Regions from separate parts of the Homo sapiens genome. Here all the other regions are linked to region 3. Evidence: promoter capture Hi-C in 16 types of primary human blood cells and fetal thymus (Javierre and others, 2016). All regions are on one chromosome and are shown on one strand. The core of a region is centred on a gene start or on the middle of the fragment in contact, and the rest is flanking DNA. Distances in the headings are between cores, read along the strand shown.

What was found. The method cuts DNA at HindIII sites, captures the fragments that hold promoters and counts their contacts. A CHiCAGO score of 5 or more calls a contact.
Region 1: a fragment that was not itself captured here is called in contact with the fragment with the promoter of GPR45 in region 3 in 1 of 17 cell types (non-activated CD4 T cells); the score reaches 5.0 in non-activated CD4 T cells.
Region 2: a contact is called between a fragment that was not itself captured here and the fragment with the promoter of GPR45 in region 3, in 4 of 17 cell types (naive CD8 T cells, non-activated CD4 T cells, total CD4 T cells and 1 more). The highest score is 10.0, in naive CD8 T cells.
Region 4: a contact is called between a fragment that was not itself captured here and the fragment with the promoter of GPR45 in region 3, in 6 of 17 cell types (total CD8 T cells, non-activated CD4 T cells, total CD4 T cells and 3 more). The highest score is 7.8, in total CD8 T cells.

Annotation. Positions count from the first base shown.
Region 1 is chr2:106,581,967-106,584,666 of GRCh38, forward strand. No RefSeq gene overlaps it. Among named protein-coding and RNA genes, the nearest start is that of CD8B2, 96 kb to the left of the region's middle. The HindIII fragment of the contact is 4,102 bases long and covers 1-2,700 here.
Region 2 is chr2:106,555,762-106,558,473 of GRCh38, forward strand. No RefSeq gene overlaps it. Among named protein-coding and RNA genes, the nearest start is that of CD8B2, 70 kb to the left of the region's middle. The HindIII fragment of the contact is 1,511 bases long and covers 603-2,113 here.
Region 3 is chr2:105,240,284-105,243,059 of GRCh38, forward strand. It overlaps GPR45 (G protein-coupled receptor 45), which reads left to right and starts at 1,460. Exons shown (of 1, transcript NM_007227.3): 1 at 1,460-2,776. The coding sequence starts at 1,576. The coding sequence ends at 2,694. The HindIII fragment of the contact is 10,787 bases long and covers 1,249-2,776 here.
Region 4 is chr2:106,601,074-106,603,847 of GRCh38, forward strand. No RefSeq gene overlaps it. Among named protein-coding and RNA genes, the nearest start is that of CD8B2, 120 kb to the left of the region's middle. The HindIII fragment of the contact is 1,043 bases long and covers 933-1,975 here.

The sequences.
Region 1 (2,700 bases), core at 103-2,602, 1.3 Mb after region 3:
ACCATAGGTTTTATGCTTAGGGGAAATCTCATTTCTTCCAGATAACCCTGGGCTTTTCAAGCCTCTAGTCTAAATTGCTTCTGTGAGGATTCATTTATCTCTTTTTCCATAACCTGAGTTTTGAACTTCTTGTCCGTTTTCTCCTCCCAGTGCTTTCTTTTCCTTTTAGCCTGGGAATGGAGTTTTAAAGCTGAGAGTCTAGGTGGACCGCAGGGGAGTCCTGCACAGCACCGCCTCCACCCCACGCATGGCAGGGAGACCTCGCTCTCTCCGCGGGCCCTAGAGGTGCTGCGCTGCTCGCGGCCGGCAGGAGGAAGCGGGCCTCCCTGCTGTTGCCTAGGATATGTCCCGAGGTGCCTCCCATCGGACATCTTACGTGGGTGTTTTTGCTGATGCGTTTTTGAAGCTCAGTTAGGTCAAGGAAGTGCCTATCTGTGATTGAGCTTGGGAAGCACTCAGGACATATCTGGCATTTTTCTGGCTCATAACCAAACAAATCACAGCGCCCCTCCACCACAAAAAAAAAAAAAAAAAAAAGAAAAAAAAAAGAAACAAATGCCTTGGCTTGTATGTATGGAGTAAACGGACCAAAGTGGGGTCAGATATCTGCTTCTGTGAGTTCGTTCAAGTGGGGAGAATCCTCCTAACTGCAAGTGGGGCTTGAGCAGATGCCCGTGCCCGGCTGATTCTCCTACATGGAAAACTTCCAATTTCGCTCGGATTCAGGCTGCTTCTGGAGCTAGTCTCCCAGCTGGGGGAAGTGAGCGGATGCTGCCATCTAGAGTCAGGATGAGGTAAAGCGGCCAAACCCCTTGGGTTAGCGTTTTCTATTTCCTCTCGCTTTAGAATTCTCTCATTATTTGTTTTATATTCTTACATCGCATTGACAATACCCGGAGGAAAGAATTCCAGGCAATGATTCTGTCCTTAGCTGTCTGGTGGGATGCTATTTATTCACATATCTATAGACTCCCCATGTGTGCCTTGCACAGTGCCAAAATCTCTGAATTCAAGTAGACAATAAATATTCTTGTCAAATAATCTGTGCCCTAAGGTCACTTATTAAATCAGTTATTTAAAAGGAATGAGTTTATCTGTGAAACCAATTTTAGAAAGGATGATAGCTGGGTCATTGGTTACATGCATTTAAAATGCTTACGTATTTGACAAATTCCAAATTCCAAAGAGGCGGCGCCTGTTTACCTCTAACAGTGTGTAAGGGTACCTTTCCCTCCAACACTGCAAACATTGTGTATGGTCAAGCTGGTAAAACAATTTTTACTTGGATATGTGAAAAAGGATCTCTTATAATAACTAGTTCGTGAATTTTAAAATGTGAGGTTGAAATTGCTAAGAACTTATTTAAAGTCATCTATTTATGTATTTATCTATTTAGGATTGTGTCCTATCATGTCATTTGCTTTATTTTTATTAGGTTTTTGTTTTACTTTTTGCTATTGATTTGATACTTTTTTTATGTCATAAGGAAATTGGGTTTTCGTTAGATTCCTTGTAAACACAGTTTCTCCAGTTTTCACTTGACTTTTGCATTTGCCTATGTTTTGAAAATAATTTTGTCTTGAAGGCATTTTGAAATACTCTGGTTATGTCCATGCATCTTCTCCTTTATGGCTTTTGGCCTTGGGAGTACTGTTGATCTAGATAAAGAGATAAACAGAGTCCTGGCGCCTAGCTAGTGATAAATCATTTGCTGAATGATGAGTCCTTCCATGAAGCCTTTTTGTGATTGTGCTGATTTTGCATCCTTCAGATGATCAGTGCGGATACTTTCCCTGCCCACACTAGAAGACCATTGGCCATGCCCATGGCAAGGAATAGAGTGGAGGGAAGTCCCAGGGCGTCAGGCTCCGGCTCCACTTCTCTGCAATGCTCCTGGCAGGTCCTGCATGCCTCCTGTGACTGCTGTACCTCAGGTTCCCTCCTTTCCTGGTGTCAAAACTGTGGCCTCAGGTATGCACTCCCATCAAACATAGCACAATCCACAAAGAGGCTATGTCTTTCCATCAGTGCTTTTCAAGAATTAGGAGGCTTCTTTAAAACAGCACCTCACCTGTCATGGCCCAAGTGCGTCAGGTGCCTGTGCGTGGAAACACAGAAGCTGGAAGAGGCCTTGGCGGGCTTAGGATGGAGCGAACCTCAGCTCTTCAAAGGCAGGGATGCCTTAGGCATCTAAGGCAGATCTGTTAACAGAATAGTCAGTCCTCAGGTTAGCTGTCGGACACCTTTTAAGTAAGAAGGGCCCACTGATGTGGTGGCAGTGAGAGGTGACAGCAGCCTAGCAGCCCTCGCTCACTCTCAGCGCCTCCTGGGCCTCGGTGCCCACTCTGGCCGCGCTTGAGGAGCCCTTCGGCCCGCCGCTGCACTGTGGGAGCCCTTCTCTGTGCTGGCTGAGGCCGGAGTCAGCTCCCTCTGCTTGCGGGGAGGTGTGAAGGGAGAGGCGCCGGCGGGAACCGGGACTGAGGGCGGTGCTTGCCAGCGCAAGTTCCAGGTGAGCGCGGGCTCCGCGGGCCGCGCACTCCCGGGCAGTGAGGGGCTTAGCACCCGGGCCAGCAGCTGTGGAGGGCGCGCCAGGTCCCCCAGCAGTGTGGGCCCGCCCACGCCTTGGTCGAATTCTCGCTGGACCTCAGCCGCCTCCCCGTGGGGCAGGGATCGGGACCTGCAGCCCGCCACGCTCGAGCG
Region 2 (2,712 bases), core at 108-2,607, 1.3 Mb after region 3:
TCCCCTTAGGTCTGAAGGAACTCATTTGGAGAACAGGCATGCAGATGCCCTGAGAGCTCGGTGCCACACGATGGACACACAAATGGAGATATGGCTTCCACATGCTGTGTTCCCACACCTCTCATATTTCAGACGCAGTGCTTTGCCCTTCATCCATTAACTCGCATTCTTTTTCTCTTCTGTCTCCCTCCATTTGGGATGATCAAAATTTTATTTCTGGATGAGCTCCTTTTTGCCCACTCTAAGAGTTAAATACCTTTGCTGACACTGAATTTGGAAACACAGACTTAGGGAAATTTTTCAGAAAGACTGCTTTAAGAGTAATTTTTTTTCCCAACAGACAACACAGAAGTAGAATTTTATTTACTTGCTTTTGCTATTATTAGCCATTTATATCATATCATAACTTATGAATAAGACATTAAGATGAGCATTGTAAACGAATGCTACCAATTGCATAAGAGAGAATCCATTCATTTTTGCTAGCTTGTATTGTTTTCTGTGTTTCCACCATACAATTAGATGTAAAATAGAAATACAATTCTATTGCATTAAAGAGTAATACTTGTTTATATGTTACTATGTGATAGGCATATAATTAAAGCTTAAAAAATTTTTGCTGAATTAAATTGAATGTAATAAGGAACATTTGAAAAACACAGAAAAATAAAATTTTTAAAAATATAAAGTTTTCCATCCCTATTAAATAACCAATATAAACATTTTGGTGTATATCCTTTAACTCTTGTCCCTATGTGTGTATCTGTATCCATATCTCTAACTCTATCTGTAGCTCTATCATCTCTACACGAACACACACACACACACACACACCAACACTTACAAGATTAACAAATGTGGTATCATAGTTTATAAAATGTGTAGTATTATAACATTTATAAATGTTGTAGTATAGTGTAGGAGCTCTACATGAGATAATGCATGGTTTATTTTGTATGATTCATGTTGCATCCTGAGAATCTCATCCTTAGCTCAAACCATGGGATTAGAAGTTAGACAAATCTGGATATAATATTGAATAAGTTTTTTGACTTCTTTGTATCTGTTTCTTTATTCCTATAAAAATGGGAATAATAATACTCACCACACATTTTTGTGAAGATTAAATGAGATAATGAAAAGGCATGAAAAGCCCTTAGCACAGTGTGTGGAACTTAGAAGTTTTTCCGTATTATTAAAAGGTCACTGATGCACTTCCATGTATATATATCTTCAGCCTCATCTCTTTATGTTTTATAAGCATTGATTCCTGGAAGTAGAATTGTTGAATCAAAGGAGATAATATTTTCCCCAGAGAACTCAAGAGGGAGAAGAGGGAGCAAACTGGAAAAGTCCTAAATGCCAGGGAGGAGGGGGTGAAGTTGGCAGGATAGAAGAGAAGCTGATGTTAAGTCCAAGGCCTTTAAAAAGATATCAAAGAGATGGATTTTGGAATGGGGTGGGGTGAAGGTGAAATCTGTGATTTTTGATAAGATCTCTTAATTTTCTTTTTTCTTTTTCTTTTTTTTTTTTTCTTTTTTAGGTGGAGTCTTGCTCTGTCACCCAGGCTGGAGTGCAAGGGCGCGATCTCAGCTCACTGCAAGCTCCGCCTCCCAGGTTCACGCCATTCTCCTGCCTCAGCCACCCGAGTAGCTGGGACTACAGGGGCCCACCACCACGCCTGGCTAATTTTTTTGTATTTTTAGTAGAGACAGGGTTTCACCGTGTTAGCCAGGATGGTCTCGATATCCTGACCTTGTGATCCACCTTCCTCGGCCTCCCAAAGTGCTGGGATTACAGGCGTGAGCCACTGAGCCCGGACAATTTTCTCTTTTCTAAAGTTAAATAAACAAGTTAGTTTATTTTATAAATCGTGTTGCCTCCTGAGAATCCCATCCTTAGCTCAAACCATGTTCTTTTCACTTCCCAATGATGAAGGTAACGAGAGAGCATTGAGTATTCTCCCCTTTTCCAGGACCCCCTATGTAAAAACTTGGTGTTCTGAGAAGGTTAATTTGTCACTGAGAAGGGGTTCACCGACTATTCTTTAATTCAGCTTTTAACAAGAGAGTGTCATTTTCATGAAAACAAAAGCATCCCTGCTGCTGATGGAAGCTTTCCATCTTGTGTTTATGCTGATGGTTGTCCCCACCCGCCTGGCCTAGTTATTTCACACTCAGATAAACTATGCAAGCATTCGGGATGGGCTGCAAGGCAGTGCCCGCTCCTTTTTATTTGCTGCCATGGCTGGTCAATTGGGAGCAGAGTAGATGGTCTGTGGTCCCAATTGTGGTGGTCTGTGCCCTGTTAGGATGTTAGGATGGTCTGTGGTCCCAATTGTGGTGGTCTGTGCCCTGTTAGGAACCAGGCCACACAGCAGTAGTTGAGTGTCAGGTGAGCAAGGAAAGCTTCATCTGTATTTATAGCTGCTCCCATGGCTCACATTATCACCTGAACTCTGCCTCCTGCCAGATCAGCAGTGGCATCAGATTCTCACAGGGGCACAAACCCTATTGTGAACTGCAAGCAGGAGGGATCTAGGTTGCGCGCTCCTTATGAGAATCTAATGCCTGATGATCTGTCATTGTCTCCCATCACCCCCACATAATATCATCAGTTGCAGGAAAACAAGCTCAGGGCTCCCATTGATTCTGATTCCACATTATGGTGAGTTGTATAATTATTTCATTATATATCACAATGTAATAATAA
Region 3 (2,776 bases), core at 210-2,709:
ACTCTTGCCACATCAGTGAGACAAAATTAAAATTATATTTATCTTTTTGAAAGTGAAAGCAAGTTTATCAAGAATGTAAGGAATAAAAGCTCATTTCATTTACTTTTTTTTTAAGAGACAGGGTCTCACTCTGTTACCCAGGCTGGAGTACAGTGACACCTTCTTAGCTCACGACAGCCTCGAACTTCTGTGCTTGAGCAATCCTCCTGCCTCGGCCTCCTGAGTAGCAGGGACTATAGATGGAAGCCTGGCTCATTTTTTTGTGTGTGTAGAGATGGGATCTCTCTATGTTGCCCAGGCAGGTCTTGAACTCCTGGCCTCAAGCAATCCTCCTGTCTCTGCCTCTCAAAGTGCTGGGATTATAGGCATGAGCCACTGCACCCAGCTAACATTGTATTTTAAAAGGCCTTACCTTTGGGGAAAGTTCCCTTCTCCCAGTCTGTGCTTCCAGAAGTAATAGTATAGCAGCCCCACAGTTATCCAAGATGTTACCATTAGGGAAAACTGGGTGAAGGACACACAGAATTTCACCATAGTATTTATTATTATAACTCCATGTGAATTTACACTTATCCATGTGAATTTACACTTATCAAATAAAGTTAAACAAACAGACTTACAATTTCTTTTAAAAAATTAAAACTTAAAAATGTATACTTAAAATTTGCTAAGAGGGCAGATCTTAGGTGAAGTATTCTTACCACCAAAACAAAATGATAATACTAGAAAAATGGCAGGAGAGAGCTTTGGCAGGGGGAGTGGGATATGTTTTTGGCCTTGGTGGTGATGGGTTTCTGGTATATTGAGATGTAAATTTGTACAGCTTTTGACATGTCAGTCATTCCTCGATGAAGTGGGGTTTTTTAAAGCTAAACAAATATTATAGCAGCAGCATCAACTATCACTTATTCATCTACTCAACAAGCATCCAAGTGTCCTCAACAAGGACACTTACTGCATGCCAGCCACTGTTGTCAGTACTGGGAGATAGCAGAGAATGAAACAAGCAAAACCTTTCTCTTGTGGAGCAGGATTCTAACGTTAGTTGGCTAGACCAAGGCTTCATTCCGACAGGTTGCTGAAAACTCAAGTTATTACATAAACACTAACTACAAAGTGTACTTCCTCAGTTTCCTCAGAAGATAGCTGATTAGGTTTTTCTGGGCTGCTTGACAAGACTCAGACAGTATTTGTGAATATCAAGCTTTGTCCCACGTGGTAAATAAACTTGTTTAGAAACACCTGTAAAGCTTAAACGCGTGCTTTCTTCAACGCGTTTGGAAACTCTAACCCCCTTCTCTTTTGTACTTTTGCTTGCTGTCCACTACAGAGGGTCCAAGCACGAAGCTGTGCACAGAGTCGCTCTCCACAGAGATGCTTAGGATGTGATCCATGAATCGCAAATCCCAGCTAGTGCTCACAAAGACGGACATTTCTCCCCAAGACCATTCCAGTGCCCCAGAGGTCCACAGACATCCAGGAAGATGCAGCCAGCAGACAAAGAATGGCAGCCACCCAAGTGCTGAGGGGAGCCCTCCCGGCCATTTCTGTCCCAGCTCCAAGGGTCTCTCCACGATGGCCTGCAACAGCACGTCCCTTGAGGCTTACACATACCTGCTGCTGAACACCAGCAACGCCTCAGACTCGGGGTCCACCCAGTTGCCCGCACCCCTCAGGATCTCCTTGGCCATAGTGATGCTGCTGATGACCGTGGTGGGGTTCCTGGGCAACACTGTGGTCTGCATCATCGTGTACCAGAGGCCGGCTATGCGCTCGGCCATCAACCTGCTGCTGGCCACCCTGGCCTTCTCCGACATCATGCTGTCCCTCTGCTGCATGCCCTTCACCGCCGTCACCCTCATCACCGTGCGCTGGCACTTTGGGGACCACTTCTGCCGCCTCTCAGCCACGCTCTACTGGTTTTTTGTCCTGGAGGGCGTGGCCATCCTGCTCATCATCAGCGTGGACCGCTTCCTCATCATCGTCCAGCGCCAGGACAAGCTGAACCCGCGCAGGGCCAAGGTGATCATCGCGGTCTCCTGGGTGCTGTCCTTCTGCATCGCGGGGCCCTCGCTCACGGGCTGGACGCTGGTGGAGGTGCCGGCGCGGGCCCCACAGTGCGTGCTGGGCTACACGGAGCTCCCCGCTGACCGCGCCTACGTGGTCACCTTGGTGGTGGCCGTGTTCTTCGCGCCCTTTGGCGTCATGCTGTGCGCCTACATGTGCATCCTCAACACGGTCCGCAAGAACGCCGTGCGCGTGCACAACCAGTCGGACAGCCTGGACCTGCGGCAGCTCACCAGGGCGGGCCTGCGGCGCCTGCAGCGGCAGCAACAGGTCAGCGTGGACTTGAGCTTCAAGACCAAGGCCTTCACCACCATCCTGATCCTCTTCGTGGGCTTCTCCCTCTGCTGGCTGCCCCACTCCGTCTACAGCCTCCTGTCTGTGTTTAGCCAGCGCTTTTACTGCGGTTCCTCCTTCTACGCCACCAGCACCTGCGTCCTGTGGCTCAGTTACCTCAAGTCCGTCTTCAACCCCATCGTCTACTGCTGGAGAATCAAAAAATTCCGCGAGGCCTGCATAGAGTTGCTGCCCCAGACCTTCCAAATCCTCCCCAAAGTGCCTGAGCGGATCCGAAGGAGAATCCAGCCAAGCACAGTCTACGTGTGCAATGAAAACCAGTCTGCGGTTTAGGGGGTCAGGGGGCCACAGAGAAGGGGCAGCTGAGCCCCAGTCCCAGGGTGGATCTGTCCTGCTCTGTTCCCTGGCATGTTGG
Region 4 (2,774 bases), core at 204-2,703, 1.4 Mb after region 3:
GAGAGAGAGGAGAGAGAGAGGTGAGGTGCCACACTGTTTTAAATAACCAGTGCTCCCATGAACTCAGAGTGATAATTCCTTGTGATCACAAGGACCACACCAAATATTCATGAGGGATCCACTCCTGTGACCCAAGCACCTCCCACCAGGCCCCACCTCCAACACTGGAGATTACGTTTAAATATGAGATTTGGAGGGGACAAACATCCAAAGTATATCATTCCACCCTGCTCCTGCCAAATCTCGTGTTCTTCTCACAATGCAAAATATAATCATCCATTCTCAATAGTTCCCCAAAGTCTTAATTCGTTTCAGTTTTAATTTGAAAGTCCTAATTCCCAAGTCTCATCTGGAGATTTTTTTTTTTTTCCCCCACTAAGAGCCTATAAAACTGAAACAAGTTATGTTCTTCCAAGAGACAGTGCAGGTACCAGCATTGGGTAAACATTCCTGTTCCAAAAGGGAGAAATTCACCTAAAGAAAGGGGCTATAAGTCCCATGCAAGTTGGAAACCCAGCAGGGCATTTATTAAATCTTAAAGCTACAAAATAATCTCCTTTGACTTCACATCCCACATCCAGAGCACAGTAGTGTCAGAAGTGGGCTCCCAAGGCCTTGGGCAGCCCTGCCCCTGAGGCTTTGCAGGGTCAGCCCCTGTGGTTGTTCTCACCGGCTGGTGTTGAGTGCCTTGGCTTTTCCAGGTGCAAGCTGTTGGTGGATCTCTATTCTGGGGTTTGGAAGATAGTGGCCCTCTTCTCACAGCTACACTAGGCAGTGCCCCAGTGGGGACTCTGTGTGGGGACTCCAACCCCACATTTCCCCTCATCACTGCCTTACTAGAGGCTCTCTGTGGGAGCTTCCCCTATGGCTGGCTTTTGCCTGGGCACCCAGGATTTCCCATACCTCCTCTGAAATCTAGGGGGAAGCTGCCAAGCTTCTTTCATGCTTATATTCTGTGCAACTATAGGCTTAACACCATGTGGAAGCCACCAAGGCTTATGACTTGTGCCCTTCAGAACAGAGACACAAGCTGTACTGGAGGCCCTTTGAGCCTCAGCTGTAGCTAGAGCCGCTGGGATTCAGGAAACAGTGTCCTGAGGGTGAGCAGGGCAACAAGGCCCCAGACCTGACCCCTGAAACCATTCTTTCCTCCTAGGCCTCTGGGCGTGTGATGTAATGTGTTGTCTCTAAGATCTCTGAAATGTTTCCACAGCCTTTTTCCCATTGTTTCGGATATTAGCACTTGACTCTCTTTTAGTCATGCGAATCTCCTTAGCAAATGGTTGCTACATAGCCTACTTACATTCCTTTTCTGAAAATGGTTTTACTTTCTGTGCCACATGGCTAGGCTGAACTTTTATGCTCTGCTTCCAACTTTAAGTCATTTCTTTGCTTCTGTATCTGATCATAGGTTGTTAGAAACAGTCCAGCCACATCTTGAATGCTTTGCTCTTTATAAATTTATTCCATTAGATACCCTAAGCCATCACTCTTAAGTTCAAACTTCCATAGATCTCTGGGACATGGACATAAATGCAGCCAAGTTCTTTGCAGGGATGTAACAGGGGCGACCTTTACTGTAATTTCTAATAACTTCTGCATTTCCATCTGAGAATTCATCAGCACAGCCTTCACTGTTCATATCTCTGTCAGCATTTTGGTCACAACCGTTTAACCAATCTTTAAGAAGTTCCAAATATTCCCTCATCTTGCCATCTTCTTCTGAGTCCTCCCAACTCTTCCAGCCTCTGCCTGTTACCCAGTTGCAAAGCTGCTTCCATATTTTCAGGTATCTTGACAGCAACACCCCACCCCTTGGCAGTAATTTTCAGTGTTAGTCCATTTTTTCATTACTATAAAGGAATACCCGAGACTGGGTAATTTATAAAGAAAAGAGATTCAGTTGGATCACAGTTGTGCAGACTGTACAAGCATGACACCACCATCTGATTGGCTTCTGATGGGGGTCTTAGGAAGCTTATAATCATGGTAAGGCAGGCACATCACATGGTGAGAGTGGGAGCAAGGGAGAGAGAGGGTTGAGGTGCCACACATTTTTAATCCATCCGATCTTGCAAGAACTTAGAGCAAAATCTCATTATCACAAGGACAGCACCAAGCCATTCATGAGAGATCCACTGTATGACCCAAACACCTTCCACCAGGCTCCACCTCCAACATTAGAGATTACATTTCAGCATGAGATTTGGAGGGGACAAACATCCAAACTGTATCACCATACTAATGCCAAATCTCCTGATTCATTTATGTTTATTTCCCATTTATTTTGATTTTCTATAATTTTTAAAACAATGTTTTGTAGTTTTTTTAGAGTATAAGTTTTGACTTCTTGGCCACACTCACCAGAAATTAGTCTCTGCAGGTTGAGTTGGAGGATAAGAGAAATAGTGGCAGCCTGCCCATCCTGGGAAGACACATAGCAGTTTTCTGGAAAATCAGGAGTAAAGGGCCCTCTTCTTTGTTACACTCATGTGGAGCAGAGCTCCTGTCAAGCTGTGTAGCAGGAGAGAGAGAGCAGTTTGTGGCTTAAGAGCTATAGATCTTCACTATTTTACTTGAGTTTAGTAGATTTGAATAAATTATTCTTGGGTAATTCTTCTTTAGCTAAATTGTTCCTTAGGACAATTTCCAAGGTTTTAGATGCTTTGGTTTTTTTTTTTTTTTAATAGTTTCTACTAGTTATGCTTTTATCAGTGGATATGAGTTCATGGAGCTCTGCATGCTGCCAGCCTCCAAATGGAACCTTTTTAATC